Regions from separate parts of the Homo sapiens genome. Here region 1 is linked to region 2. Evidence: promoter capture Hi-C in 16 types of primary human blood cells and fetal thymus (Javierre and others, 2016). All regions are on one chromosome and are shown on one strand. The core of a region is centred on a gene start or on the middle of the fragment in contact, and the rest is flanking DNA. Distances in the headings are between cores, read along the strand shown. Region 1 holds the start of LOC105375977 (a long non-coding RNA gene). Region 2 holds the start of CER1 (cerberus 1, DAN family BMP antagonist).

Region 1 (6,873 bases), core at 3,342-5,841, 1.3 Mb before region 2:
GAGTTGTCCTTCCTAACACACCTTTTAACAGGGAAAGAGTTCTCAGATGAGGCTAAGCTGATCTTTCCTTTTCAGCAGTATTTTATGGCAATGAGGATAAAACTAGTGTCAGAAGCGAAGGATTAAACCTTTATCATCTTCATCTTGGTCTAGTAGCATTCATTCATCGAAATTTTTGAGCAGAAAAAACAAACCTCAGCCCTGCTTCCACATGGAGGGCAATGCATATGTAATGTGGCTTCTGAAATTTGGTGTCTTAAGGCTTCTCCATCTCACTGAGGATTTCCTGTGCAATTGATATGGAAAATCTGAGTGATTTACCACAACACAGTTATGAGCCATCATACAGGTGCATTTAATTTTTAATTACTCTTAAAAATGTTTTTAATAATTAGTAGCAATAACCACTAATTGGCATATAAGCCATTCTTGCACCAGCAGGCAAACTGTAGGTTTACTTCAGCACACCCACACCCAATCAACTGAAAATTGCTTGAATGCTTATCTTATAATTACTGTGCTTAATGCTGTTTGCATTGTTTGGAAGCTTTTGTGATTAATTGATTTTTTTTTCTTTTTTTTACCTCTGAACCTGTAAATGAATGGCAAAGATTAGTCTTCTGCTCAGTGACATCTTATTTACATTGAGTTGTTAGGCACATTAAAGGGGAAAAATTATGGATTTTGTTTTTACATGCCAAGTGTATTTCCTCTGTTTATGCTATGGTTATATAGACCCCATATAGAAGTTGAAACTGCTCTTACTACCTGCATGTCTTGTGCCAACGCTATGCAGAATGGCACAATTACATTTTTAGGCCAACTATTAACCTCTACGCACCTTTATACCTTCCACTTATTTTTCTGGGTAAAGGGCAATAATTTGAGAATGCCTCTATTTAAATAGAGGCCAACATAATTCAAGTTGTTTAGTTTATTCCTTGAGCATCAATAATTGATATATATGCATGCTAGTAATTGTGCTTTTGATCTGAAAGTGGCAGTCACAATTAAGCTCAGAAACAATCATAAAATAAACGAGATTATTGGTATGCTAAGGCAATGTTTGAAATAGATGATAGATCTGCCAATGTTTTCATAGTACTAAATGGCAAATAAAATTTTATGATGACAGAGGCAAAGGATAAAAATGTGACTTTATAATTGTAGGCCATTTTATATTGGTGATGAACTAATGAAGACATGGACGTGGATATTTCTTACTCTGTTTATTCACTCACTGTAAAGTTATTGGGAATATGATGTGCCAAGGAATGTGCTAGACAATGAGGATATGGAAAAAATAAGTCATTGTGGGAAAATGTGGTCTTGGGAATTAGAAAAAGTCAGTGAGAAAATCTTGGTCCCATAACTAGTAACTGTGTCTAAGACATTAAGAAAATTAACTGATGTCTCAGAAAATAATTTTTGTCATCTGAAAAGGGAGAGTATTACCTACCTTGAAAGCTCATTGTGAAAATTAAATGAAATACTATACATAAGTATTTTGTACTTGGTTGGTGTGCAGTATTTAATGCATGCCTGCTATAGTTTTAATTAGACCAAAGAATCACAGTTCAGTGAGAGAATGCGATACACCTATCTCTTGCAGGGTTCTTTGATTGCAGGCAACAGAAACTCAGAGGATCAACTAGAACACTGGAGAATCAGGCTTGAAAACAGAGGAAGAACTAGGCATATATGTAAGGATTTGGGTACCAGGAACTTCTCAACGGTTTTGGAGGGCACTGCTGGTGTACAAATGCATTCAAAATTCCCTCCTTATTTTTGTATTTTTGTTCTCAAGATTGAAAGTCAGAGAGTGAGGAGAAGAGAAAGAGACAGAGAGAGACAGAGAAAGGGGGAACTATGGATGCCACTATAAAATAAACGGTGATGAGTGATTAATAACCCAAAGTCCACACAAAATATTATGTAACACAGAAACTGATTACAGTGCCATGAGTAGGGTTGCCTCCATGGACATGTCATTTTGCAATTACAAAGGGCCCTATGCCTAGCAGGCCCTACACTTTGTTTAATGTTCTGTGTCACCATTTTGAAATTCTTAATAATTTATGAACAAGGGGCTCCACATTTTCATTTTGCTTTGGCTGCACAAATTTCATAGCTGGTCCTGGTCCCACGTTCTAGAGTGGGGGTCTAGTGCTGTAGAAGCACAGAGAAGGGAGAACATCCAGGTAGGGATTCATACAAAGACCAAGGAAGGGTTCAAGGAATGAGAGTTAAAGTTTCAGGCAGAGATGGCCACATGGAGAAATGGGAGAGGGCATTTAGATGATGAAAACCTAGAAACAGAAGCCATCAGCAGTTCTTATTATGAAAGATATTAAGCACAGTTCTGGCATAATTTCCACTGAGTCATTCTCTTTAAGAGCCGTAAAGCAACTAAATTATGATTATAGATTGGAGAAAACTCCCTCTGTCTAGAAGTCTGCAAAACAACAGAGGAGGCCTGCAAGAACTATAGGCAGAATCCCACCAGAGCTAAAAAAAAAAAAAGTGGTGTGTTTTTAGGCCACTAGAAACTTATGACTTAACTGTCATCTGGGTCTTCCTTCTACCCAGCCTCCTCCTGAAGTCACTGGAGTAAGAGCTGTCCCCAGTATGGAATCCTGTCTTCTTGGCACCGAGCTCATGTATTTATGGTAGTGCTTTTGAGTGGGACTGTGGGGTGAAGAAGCAGAGCAGTTTAGTTGCTTTCCATGTATTACTTTAGAATTTATGCAACTCTGCTTCTCAGTGTTCCCGTAGACCATGACTTCTCCCATTCTTTTATCAAACGTTTTTATAGAATCTCAGGATTCTAGCTCAACTCTTTTCCAAGGTATGAAAATCCTTAATGTGCTCCTCCAGTGCATTCCAGTTTTCCTTTTTTTTTTTTTTTTGAGATGGAGTCTTGCTCTGTCACCAAGGCTGGAGTGAAGTGGCACAATCTCGGCTCACTGCAGCCTCCACCTCCTGGGCTCAAGCGATTCTCCTCCCTCAGCCTCCCAAGTAGCTGGGACCACAGGTGCGCGCCATCATGTCCGGCTAATTTTTGTATTTTCAGTAGAGATGGAGTTTTGCCATGTTGGCCAGGCTGGTCTCGAACTCCTGACCTCAAGTGATGCACCTGTCTCGATCTCCCAAAGTGCTGAGATTACAGGCGTAAGCCACTGCGCCAGTCCTGGGTAGATTTAATTGTCAAAAATTTCTTTCTATTGAGCTGAATTTGCCCTCTCTGTAACATTCACTAAGACATGTTTCGGAGTCACCCAGATTAAGCCTGACTCCTCTTCCTTATGCAAATTGAAAACATGTTCTCTAATTACAGTGAAAATGTTATTTGCCCTGCCCCATTCCAGTGAGAAAACATGTATAAGATTTCCTTTAAAGAAAGCTTCTTAGAGTAGTTTGAGACTCTCCTATTAGCTGAATAGGATATGGTATGGTATGTTTCCAGGATAGCACAGACCTGGAAGTTTCCCCTACAGATTCACTTTGTCTTCTAAACTTCATACTCTCTATGGGAAACAACTTCTCCATTCCCTCTGTCATATGTAATGCACCAGGCACATATCCAGCTGAAGCCATTGCATGGGAGACAGAGCCAGTCACAAACACACTTGTGTCAGGAAGGATAGCCCAGACATTCGCCATCTGTGTCTCAGCTTTCTCCTGCTCTCTTCTTAGGTTGCTTGTCTAGGGACACACCCACACACTATTTCCCACCCACCCTGACAATGGGAAAATTGGCACATTGCACAATTTTTGAGAGAGGCCTATTGTACAAGATTTCCCCTGAATTATAGTGAGTTTTTTCAAGGATATGCTGGAGTATCATGCATTCAGATGGGTGAGTTGAAGTTAATCTACTCAATAATAACAACAAAATCATCTTCAGGATGACTTTGTTTGTTTTGTAGGGAAATCAAGTCAATGCCTACAGGCTTTTTTTCATGAGCATAAACATTCGTTGCTTAAAAGGGAATTAGAATTGTACATATTTGTATATTTTCCAGAGAGTCATATTGACCAAGGCCTCTTCTACAACCAAGAACAGAATACCATGTCTCCTTTTCTTGAGTTGCATGGCAATATGCCGCCTCTTAATGCTGAAACCAAAACCATGGCATTGTGCTCCCCTAGCCCTTGAATATCAGTTTCAGGAATACAATAAGAGATCGCCCAATTTTCTCCCCTTGATCATCTCTTTCTCACTTCTTATGCTCTAATTTTCTTTGTAGTTTTTTTGCACTTGATTATTTGATCCCTAGCCAAGGAAGAACTGTTTAATCAGGAAGGACTTAACTGGAATTGAGATGATATCAGCAACAGATACAGAAATTCAGAGAATGTAAGGTAGAGCTAATTATTAAAATAGAAGCTAGACTATTTATAGAGCACCTACGCTGAGCCATGCTCTCTGATGGGAATGAAGCATACATTTTCTTTAATACTGCCTTGCAACTCGCGGGCAGAAATTATACATTTTAAAGATAAGTAAAAAGTAAACTGAGGCCCCAAACATTTATATAATTATCCTTAATTCAGCTTGCTTTTAAATGGTGGAGGTAGGATTCAAAGACATTTGACCTAACTTCTAAAGTTAATGTTTCAAGTGAAGAAATGAATAAAAAATTCTGGTCTTGAAATACTTGGACTTGGCTGCATGTGATTTATACTATCTTATAATGCTACAAGATGCAGTGTGCATGCATATATCACATTATTTCTGGTGTAATCTGGAATTCCTTTAGCTAAATATTGAACTTCTAAGATTTTATAATGGTGATCAAGATTTTGGTAACAAATGTCTTGCTTTAAACCATTCCAGACTGGATGACAAGGACATTTATATGTGGAGCTATAGTTGATTTTGCAACAGGGAACCATAATTTTTGTTAATTCTGCTTAATGCTGTTGGCACGGTCATTTGTTTTCTTGTAGCGAAGATTGAAAAAATTAAAATATATATTAAAATATATTTTGGATGTACACATTTATATCTGTTTATTTTTGTTGGAGAAAATATAGAGCTGTATTCAGAGGTAATCTTTAGCTTCAACTCCATTTACTATTTCAAAAGTCATTCACAGTGTTAAATCACAATGTGCTTCCCTTTTCTTTTTTTGGCCTAAGCATTCTATGTTTCCCTGTTCTTTTTTGCCTGCCTTAATAAAATAGAATGTCAGTCCTCTAAGGATGACAATGCAGGGAGAATTAAAATATAGGTAGGATGGCCAGATTGGGCAACTATAACGTAGGTCCAGCAGGGCTGTCCCCTCTGTGAAGGAATTACTCATTCCTTGGCCACATTCGAGGGGGCTAGATTTGCTTTTATTAATTGAACTAGCAGGTGACAGCAGTAGAGTAATACAGACTTATCTAATACAACACAAATAGAGGCTCAGAGATCCATCCCAGGGGGAGAGTCTCTATTACCAAATTTGGAGGATCCGGGCTTAGTATTCTTAGAGGAGCTAGTGGATTTTCTTGCTAGTATTACAGCTGGCTAGTATGTAAGTATTAGAAGGTTAGTTTCCTTAGAAATGATCTAAAATAGGAATTATAGGCAAGAGAAGGAAAGGCTAACAAGGCTAACATGTACTTTTTAAAAATCCAGGTTTTTCTTATTTCCCAAGGTCATTGGGAAATTCAAATCAGAACAAGATGTGAAATCACAATTCAAATAGTAAAGAATTAAACTAGCTGGTGACAAATAGATGTATATTATAGTCTGATTTAATAGTCATAAATCCTAATATCTGGTTGGAAAGCTTTTTTGGCTTTGCTTGTAAAATGTGTTGTTTGTGTTTATTGCTGGAGTTAGGTCATGGTGTGGCTGCTAGGACTCTGGGTTCTCAAGTAAGAGGAAGCTTACATTCTTCACAAGCTTCCCCACAATGTGATCTTAAATGCTTTATCATGTTTGCTGTCTGAGATGTGATAAAAATGCCCATATAGGGTTTGGTAAGGAGCACATGAATTAATATACGGAAAGCATTTAGAAAGTAGCTTGGCTCAGGCTAAGTGCTCAGAATTGTTCTGTGTTATTTACCATTAAGCAGATAGAATATTAAATATTTTCAACACTCATCCATAAAAGTCTTTGGTGCTAAAGAACCTTTGTAGTGCCTGGGTATTTTACTTCTACGAAGACTTCAGCTGAGAAGCACTTCGTTCTGAATGGTGTTGATATTGAGGACAGTAGGCAGGGGAAAGGCATAACTTCAGCTCCCAAGAGAAAAACTCCATGCACTTCTGTGCCTTGGTTAAAAAAAAAAAAATGATTAACTTATTCTATGGAAGGGATTAAAATACTCTGGAGAGCCAAGAAGTTTGATTGTCCACAGAGAGGAAGCCATATATCCCTGAACACACGTCTGTGGTCTGTCACAAACCAGGGTTGGAACTGCAGAACTCTTAGACACCGTTGTTCTGAGAGAGCGAGGAATTGTGACTAGGGATTGCGAATGCAGCCTTAGGACATAGTTACACTCAGCTGTGTGGTGGTCCCAGTATTTCATTCTGTGGCACCTTGACTGGACATAGTGGCATTACATGTAGGAGGCAAATTCTCTCCAACATGAGGTGCTGAAACAACTTTCACACTTCTCAGTTCTTCTGCCCTGGTCTTCAGTTCCTCCGTGTCACTTTTTTCTTTGTAGTATCAATAGACATCTTCAGGAAACTTTTGAATTACTTTTAAAGATTTATGTTATAATAGATAACCAGACTTATAAATGATCTCTCAACTTTCCCTACTTTTATAGGTAAAGAAAGCAGGAAACTGTGACTAAATGAAGATCACAGAGCCAGTTGATCAGTGGGGAAGCTGCATCTGAAATCCAGGACTTCTAGATCCTG
Region 2 (6,807 bases), core at 3,126-5,625:
ATATTGACCAGCTGAGATATCATTAATGCTTAACAATTTTATCCTTATGAGCATATCTTGGCCAGCTAGGTTGCCTTTGACCACCAAAGGGTATGATAATATATTCCAATGTAAATGCCATGTGTGCATCTGTGTAACTCACATTCATGTTGATGTGTTACAAAATATACACTAAATATAAATGCCTTTGCTTCTTTGGAATGTCATGTTAGATGGTGTGATTAAAGAGGAATAGAATTAAAATATAAATTGATTTATTTAAAAAAAACAGTTATTCTGGGAAATGTGTGTATGTGTGTGCACTAAAAGTAAAAGAAACCTAATTATTAAAATAATTTTTAGGAACAAAAATTTGAATAACTTAATAGAAAAAGCAGTCTGGCTGGGAAAAGGCAGTTCTGTACCATATATGTGTAAAAATTAACACAGACAGGAGAGAGGTGATTGAGAGACTTAAACAGAAGGCTGCTTACAGATCAGAAGAAACCCTTGGTCCAGTGTCATAAGTCTATGAAGACATTCCAGAAATGCTTCCAGCTAGGTTATCTCCTGATAGTACCTTTAAATTATGAGACAAAACAAGTAAGGGAAAAATATAAGAACATTTTTCAGAATGCTTCATATACTAAAATTTAATGCATTAAAATATCCAGAATATTTTCAGAACCTGTAATTTTGGTACTTGCTGAATAAAATTTATAATACAAAGTTTTATTAAATAGCAAAAAACAGTCATTCAAACATAGAAACCTTACTACCTAATTCAAAATGCATGTGAGTAAATAATTTTGCCTGAAGATTGAATTTTTGGGGGTTACTTTCATTAGCATCTCTGGATTGATCTCTAAACCTGGTAGTAGTCATGTATTTTTCCTTCCTCATAATATAGGTACTTGTTTGGCTACCAGTGATTGTTCCTCTTCCCTATATAAACTACTAAAATTAACATCACTGTTCCTTCTTCAAAGTCAGAGACCTGACATTAAGTACTTTATATGAGGAGTATTGTTAAAAAGGAGGCAACCAAGCAAGTTACTCCTTACATCTGTGGAAAGACTTAATCATCAGATAGAAGTCAAGTAAAACACTGTTTGGGTTGCAAAAGTAACTATAAGTATGAGAATCTTTCCTACAAATATTTCACGTAGCCTGCCTCCCTGCCTGCCTGCGTGCCTGCCTGCCTGCCTGCCTGCCTGCCTGCCTGCCTTCCTTCCTTCCTTCCTTCCTTCCTTCCTTCCTTCCTTCCTTCCTTCCTTCCTTCTTTCCTTCCTTCCTTCCTTCCTTCCTCCCTCTCTATCTTGCTTCTTTGCTTGCTGGTGATTTGACACACATTAAAGAAGCCCATTTTTATGGTCTCGCTTATTTCTTTTCCTTCTTTAGATGGAGGGCTTTTACCCAAACTTGGAGAAAATGCATCACGGAATATTAGTAGTGGAAAGGATTTTAGCAATCATCTAGGTCGGGTCCGTCATTTATAGATGAAAATCTTTAGATGGAGAAAGGTTTTACAACTTAACATTCTACGGCTAGTTAGTGGCAGAGCTGAGACAAGGTCTCAAACGTGTACCAATAACTAGACTAATATCATTTCCTCTATCGTTCTAATTTAAAACTACGTTTCAAGTCACCTTTCCCTGAAAATGTTATGTACCCACTTAACATTTTCAGACTGAATAATCAGCATCTTTGCTGTTGTGGTTTTGCTTTTCAAAGGTAATAGTGGGATAGCTCTTCAAGCTGAAACTCCTGGGATAAAGGAATCCTGGGAGCCAGCATGTAGGATGTGTCCATCTTCATGCTCCGTCTTCACCTTGCACTGGCACTCCTCCACCAGCATCACCACCTTGATCACGGAGGAAAGTTCAGTGCAGTTCAGTGGCAAGTGCATCGTGGTGAACTTGGCAGGCAAACAGTGAGAGCAGGAGGTATGGGAGTGCTGCGCGGCTCCAGGAAAATGAACAGACCCGCATTTCCCAAAGCAAAGGTTGTTCTGAACAACTACTTTTTCACAGCCTTCGTGGGTTATAGTCTAAAAAGCAAACACATTTCCATTACGTTATTTTGAATTATTTCTTTAACACACATAATGCAGAAGCTATGGACTGTAAATCTGAGGATAATTTAAAAATTTCAAAGCTTTCCAATTTTGGATACAATTTGCAATATGCAAGTGATGGTATCTATAAGGGCACAGAACCACCTCAATTAAATTTTCTTTATTGAGTAAATTATTAAACAGCCTTTAGGGAATCCCTAAGTTAACATAAAAAATATTTTACTCTACATTATTCGTGCAAAACCTTAAGCAATTTTGTCTAATTGGATGTGAGCGATTGAAAAATTCTAATGGTAATTATCTTACATAAGTAATGTGCCTTACTTTTTTATTCCTCACAGGGCTTTGTGCATAGTAGGCTCCCAATACATATTTGTTACATTGATCGTAGAATAGATCAGAACATTCTAGGTTTAATTCTATCCTATTCTGCAAGACCTGTAGTACATTCAAGTCTATGAAGTTGTATGCAAGCAGAGTTACAATGCATATGCCTGCAAATCATTGTATATTACATCACCTTTACCTCTCATAACTCCAAGCACCTAGCTTTATATGCCTTTCAAAATATGTAAGAGTCAAACATCTTAGTTTTAATTTAATTAGCAATAGAATTCAAAAGAAGAATTTCAAAAGAAATTTGATTGCCTGATTCTTAGGGGTAATTTTCTAATTGCACATGGCCAACAGAGTAGTCATTATTATTTGATAATTGACTTGCCATTGCTACATATCCTTGCCTTTTCAGGCAGAATACTTAACTGCCTTGAACAGTCAATTGCCCTATTCTATTGCTTGCTTAATTGGGTAGCATTACTCGACTATAAAATTTTACTCTACCCTGCATGTTTTTGGTTCAATATCTTCATGTTTAAGGACCTAATGCAAGTTCTCAATTTTAATTTAACATTTGGAATGTAGATATTGCCAGAGGAAGTAGACAGTAGGATGTCCCTTTGTCTTAATAGCATGGAATTGATCATAATAACTACAAATCAGCCAACACAACATGAATCAGGAGAAAGGTACTTCTAAGGGGAGGAGATATGATCTCACATCAAGATTGATTTTTTAAAAAGCTCATATGAGAAAATAAGTGAAAGAAAATCACTTTTTTGCTATCATAATACTAGAAATGATATGACAACTTTTGCCTGAGAACCTCAACGTACTTTGAGGTTGTGGGATAGCTTTAGCAAGCTATTAAAGAAGTCCCTCATAAACCTATAAAGTAATTAAGTATGGACTATGGGGATTAAGACCATCGTAAATGGATATGAGAGTATTTGGGAAGGAGTCCAATGCACCCCACTTTATCAACAAATGGAGTTGACCTGCTCATCCACATATTAATAGAGTGCAGAAAGATAGCTACAGAGGAGTTCTGGTGATTACTCTAAATTCTCAGTTTCCTAACTGAGGGTACAGTCTGACTTATATCTCTGAGTAGATCACCTCCAATGCAAAAATAAATAAATAAAACAGAGCTCTGTGTCTTCAGTGTGAATGAATGATTACTGATATTGACAGTATCATCATATCATTCTTGCAGCATTTCCACAATGCCAAGAAAAAATGGAAAGGCCAGAAGGAAACTTAATCTTTGCCAAATCCTATGATGAATGCCCAAGGACCAAATCTGTAGTTAAGCTAGAGTCAGGCTCCTGACAGCCTTTTCCCCTACTCTCCATCCATCCCAGCTGTCCACTACCACCTGCAAACTCTTACCTGCTCTCCCCCCAGAACACATACCTGGCTGAAGGGCACTGTCCTGCAGGTCTCCCAATGTACTTCATGGCTTTTGATGGGCAAGATGACCCCCTGAGAAGCCGGAGTTTTTCTGAACATGAAGTGGTGCCAGAATTTCTTGGCTTCTTCCCGAAGAGGAGATTTCTCCATTTTCATTCCATCTATCGGCTGGATGAGGGACTGGGTCCCAGGTGGGAAGGGCTCACTATCTGAGTCCCTGGATGGATGCATTTCTCTCTCAGGCTTCTTCCAGAACCTGCCAAATCTGGACAGCATCTTCTCTCTCTGCCTCTGGCCTTCCCCTGCAGGGCTGGTGGCTACAAGGTGTGGCACTGCGACAAACAGATCTGGCTTCTCCTCAGCTTCCTCATGGTTGCCTGTGGGAAGCTCTCTTTGATTCCTTGGCAGGAGTACGGGGGAAAGAGAACTCTGATTCTGGCGGCCATCCTGGTGCCGTGTGGTCTTTCCTAGAGGCAGGAGTACCAGCAGCTGAAATAAGAGGAGATGCATGCTGTCAGGGGCCCAAGCTTCTTTTGTAAATGATGAGGCCCAAAGGAGAGGCTCATTCTCTGCAGGACTGGGAAAAAGGAAATCGTATATATAGATACCTGCCTGGCGGGATGGGAAGGCAGGTGGTCAGTAGCCAGGCAGAATAAACACATTTATTGTTTGCTTGAATTATGTAGTGCTAATGGCCTCCTGCCGTCACTTTGGTTTTGTGTATTTTAAAAGGCCCCAGTGAAAGCCTGGGACCCAGGGGGTAATTAGCTAAGAGTTTAGCTATGTCTGGGGCTTAAAGAGCAGTATTAGCAAAGACAACACATTCTTTGCCTAAATTTCCCATGGCTGTTTTCAGAAGAAGGACTAGAGTCAGCTCACATTTGCTGTGCATCTGCCTTGTGCTGGAATAGAATAGACAAGACATGTTGCTGTAAGAGAAGTTTTTGGATAAAAATTAAAGGCATACATTTAGAAAAAGCCCAGGCCTTTAGGAAGGCTATTCACACACACACACACACACACACACACACACACACACACACACACACGAAGAAGTATATCAAAGTTGTAAGGAGAAGAAAGGAAGAGCTAGAAGGATGTTAATTTTTTTGAGCAAGGGACATATTGTTTCTTACTTACATGCAAATTGGGGTTATTGATTTTTGCACAGTAACTGAGTAAAGGGAATATGTTTTCCTTTCCACACGTAGAAACTCACAATTCCCAAGTTAATCCTCTCACATTAAGAATCAATTAATGGGTGCTAAATTTCACAACTGGTCAGTCATCAGATAAACTCTTCCAATTGTTCACATGTTCCTCAACAGGATACCACGTAATAGACTGACAGCTCATCAGTCTTCAATGAGGATAGGGAAATGTCTCCCTCCAGCCATCCTATTGATTTTTTTTTCCCTTTGAACAAAGAGCCAGACATGAGAACGTGGATTCTAAGAACCAGGTTTGATAACTTTGTGTGTGACGCTGGCTAGTCAGTTTCTTACCTTATTGAATCCACATCATCTCCCCTTGTTTTACACTAATTGATGGCCAGGCTAAATAAAGATTGACACAAATAAGAGTCTTCGGGGATCAAAGGAAAAATTGAAAAATAACTATCATTCAAAACTATCATGAATCAGCCTAGGATACGAAAAAGAAACACGTCCAGAAAACTGAAACCCCAGAATAGAGTCCGATCAGCCTACCACATGATTCAAACAGTATTTCCACTGGGAAGCAATGCAATATCTGCTTTTATTTCTCCCCTTTTAATTCAATCACTATATTCCTTGCTTTCAATAACACAAATAGTCCTGGAACATGTTCCCCCTTTTTTGTCAATACTGATTAAACTTTCTTTCCAAGAAGTGACCCACTGGAGTCTGTTTTCCAGGCATTTCTGTTCTTCTTGATAGCCATGCCTGATTTCTATGAAATAAAGCCTTAAGTAAGTCCCTTTACCCATGATAATGAGCTATTTTTAACATGGACCATCACTTTACCAGAATGCCATGAGTGGAGATATATTGTACTTGTACCAAATATCTATGGAACGTGTGCTAGTATTAATGAAAGGTGCTGTTGATATATAATAAATAAGCATGTGTATTTGCCATTGTTTTTTTTTATTTTAGGAAAAGGGTTCTGCTCTGTTGCCCAGTCTGGAGTGCAGTGGTGCAATCATAGCACTCTGTAACCTCAAACTCCTAGGCTCAAGCAAGCCTCCTGAGTAGCTGGGACTACAGGCACACTACCACACCTGGCTATTTAAAATTTTGTGTTGTTGTTGAAACAGAGCCTCACTCTGTTGCCCAAGCTGCTCTGAAACTCTTAGCCTTGAGCCACCATCTTGCCTCTGCCTCCCAAAGTGCTGGGATTACAGGCGTGAGCCACCATGCTATGTCAACATCTTTTTTTTTTTAATTGACTGCTACTTGAATTTCTTAATTCCCCTCAGCCATCCAATGCTATACGCTTTCCAGAGCTAGTCACTAGGCCTCCTGGTATAATATGGTGTGGAAGCCAGCTGTGATACCTTTCCTGAATCCTTTTAACTGTTACTTTTCAGTAACTGAAATTCCATTGTTATCAATCAGAGTATCTACTATTTCCCAAAACTAAAGACAATCTCAGAAATTCTATCTCGGGTCTCAGTTTGCTTGGCTCTGGAATTACTGAACATGAGATACAGTTGAGATAATTCCTGTTGAACTGCAATGTGTAGAAGACTCACTTTGTGTGTTAAGAATCATATTAGATACTGGTAGATAATTGAAAAATGAGTAAAACTTTGTCCCTGCCCTCAAGTAGGTTAGATAGTCTAGTGGGATTTCTTATGCATCATCTAACTTTATTGTATAAAATCATCTATAGGGATGTCAGTTATCCATTTTTCACTTTCCTTTAGTCCTAAACTTCCCTTCCTCTGATCCTAATTTGGGGCTTATAAGTGCCATTTAAAAATCACTCACAGAGAATATCCTTTTGCTGTTCTGTCA

Evidence for each region. The method cuts DNA at HindIII sites, captures the fragments that hold promoters and counts their contacts. A CHiCAGO score of 5 or more calls a contact.
Region 1: a fragment that was not itself captured here is called in contact with the fragment with the promoter of CER1 in region 2 in 1 of 17 cell types (M2 macrophages); the score reaches 7.4 in M2 macrophages.

Annotation. Positions count from the first base shown.
Region 1 is chr9:13,434,400-13,441,272 of GRCh38, forward strand. LOC105375977 (a long non-coding RNA gene) reads left to right here and starts at 6,336. Exons shown (of 4, transcript XR_929484.3): 1 at 6,336-6,597; 2 at 6,780-6,873. The HindIII fragment of the contact is 2,380 bases long and covers 3,402-5,781 here.
Region 2 is chr9:14,718,358-14,725,164 of GRCh38, forward strand. It overlaps CER1 (cerberus 1, DAN family BMP antagonist), which reads right to left and starts at 4,376. Exons shown (of 2, transcript NM_005454.3): 1 at 3,809-4,376; 2 at 1,367-2,029. The coding sequence starts at 4,315. The coding sequence ends at 1,733. RefSeq lists enhancers at 3,524-4,463, 4,464-5,401. The HindIII fragment of the contact is 2,921 bases long and covers 4,331-6,807 here.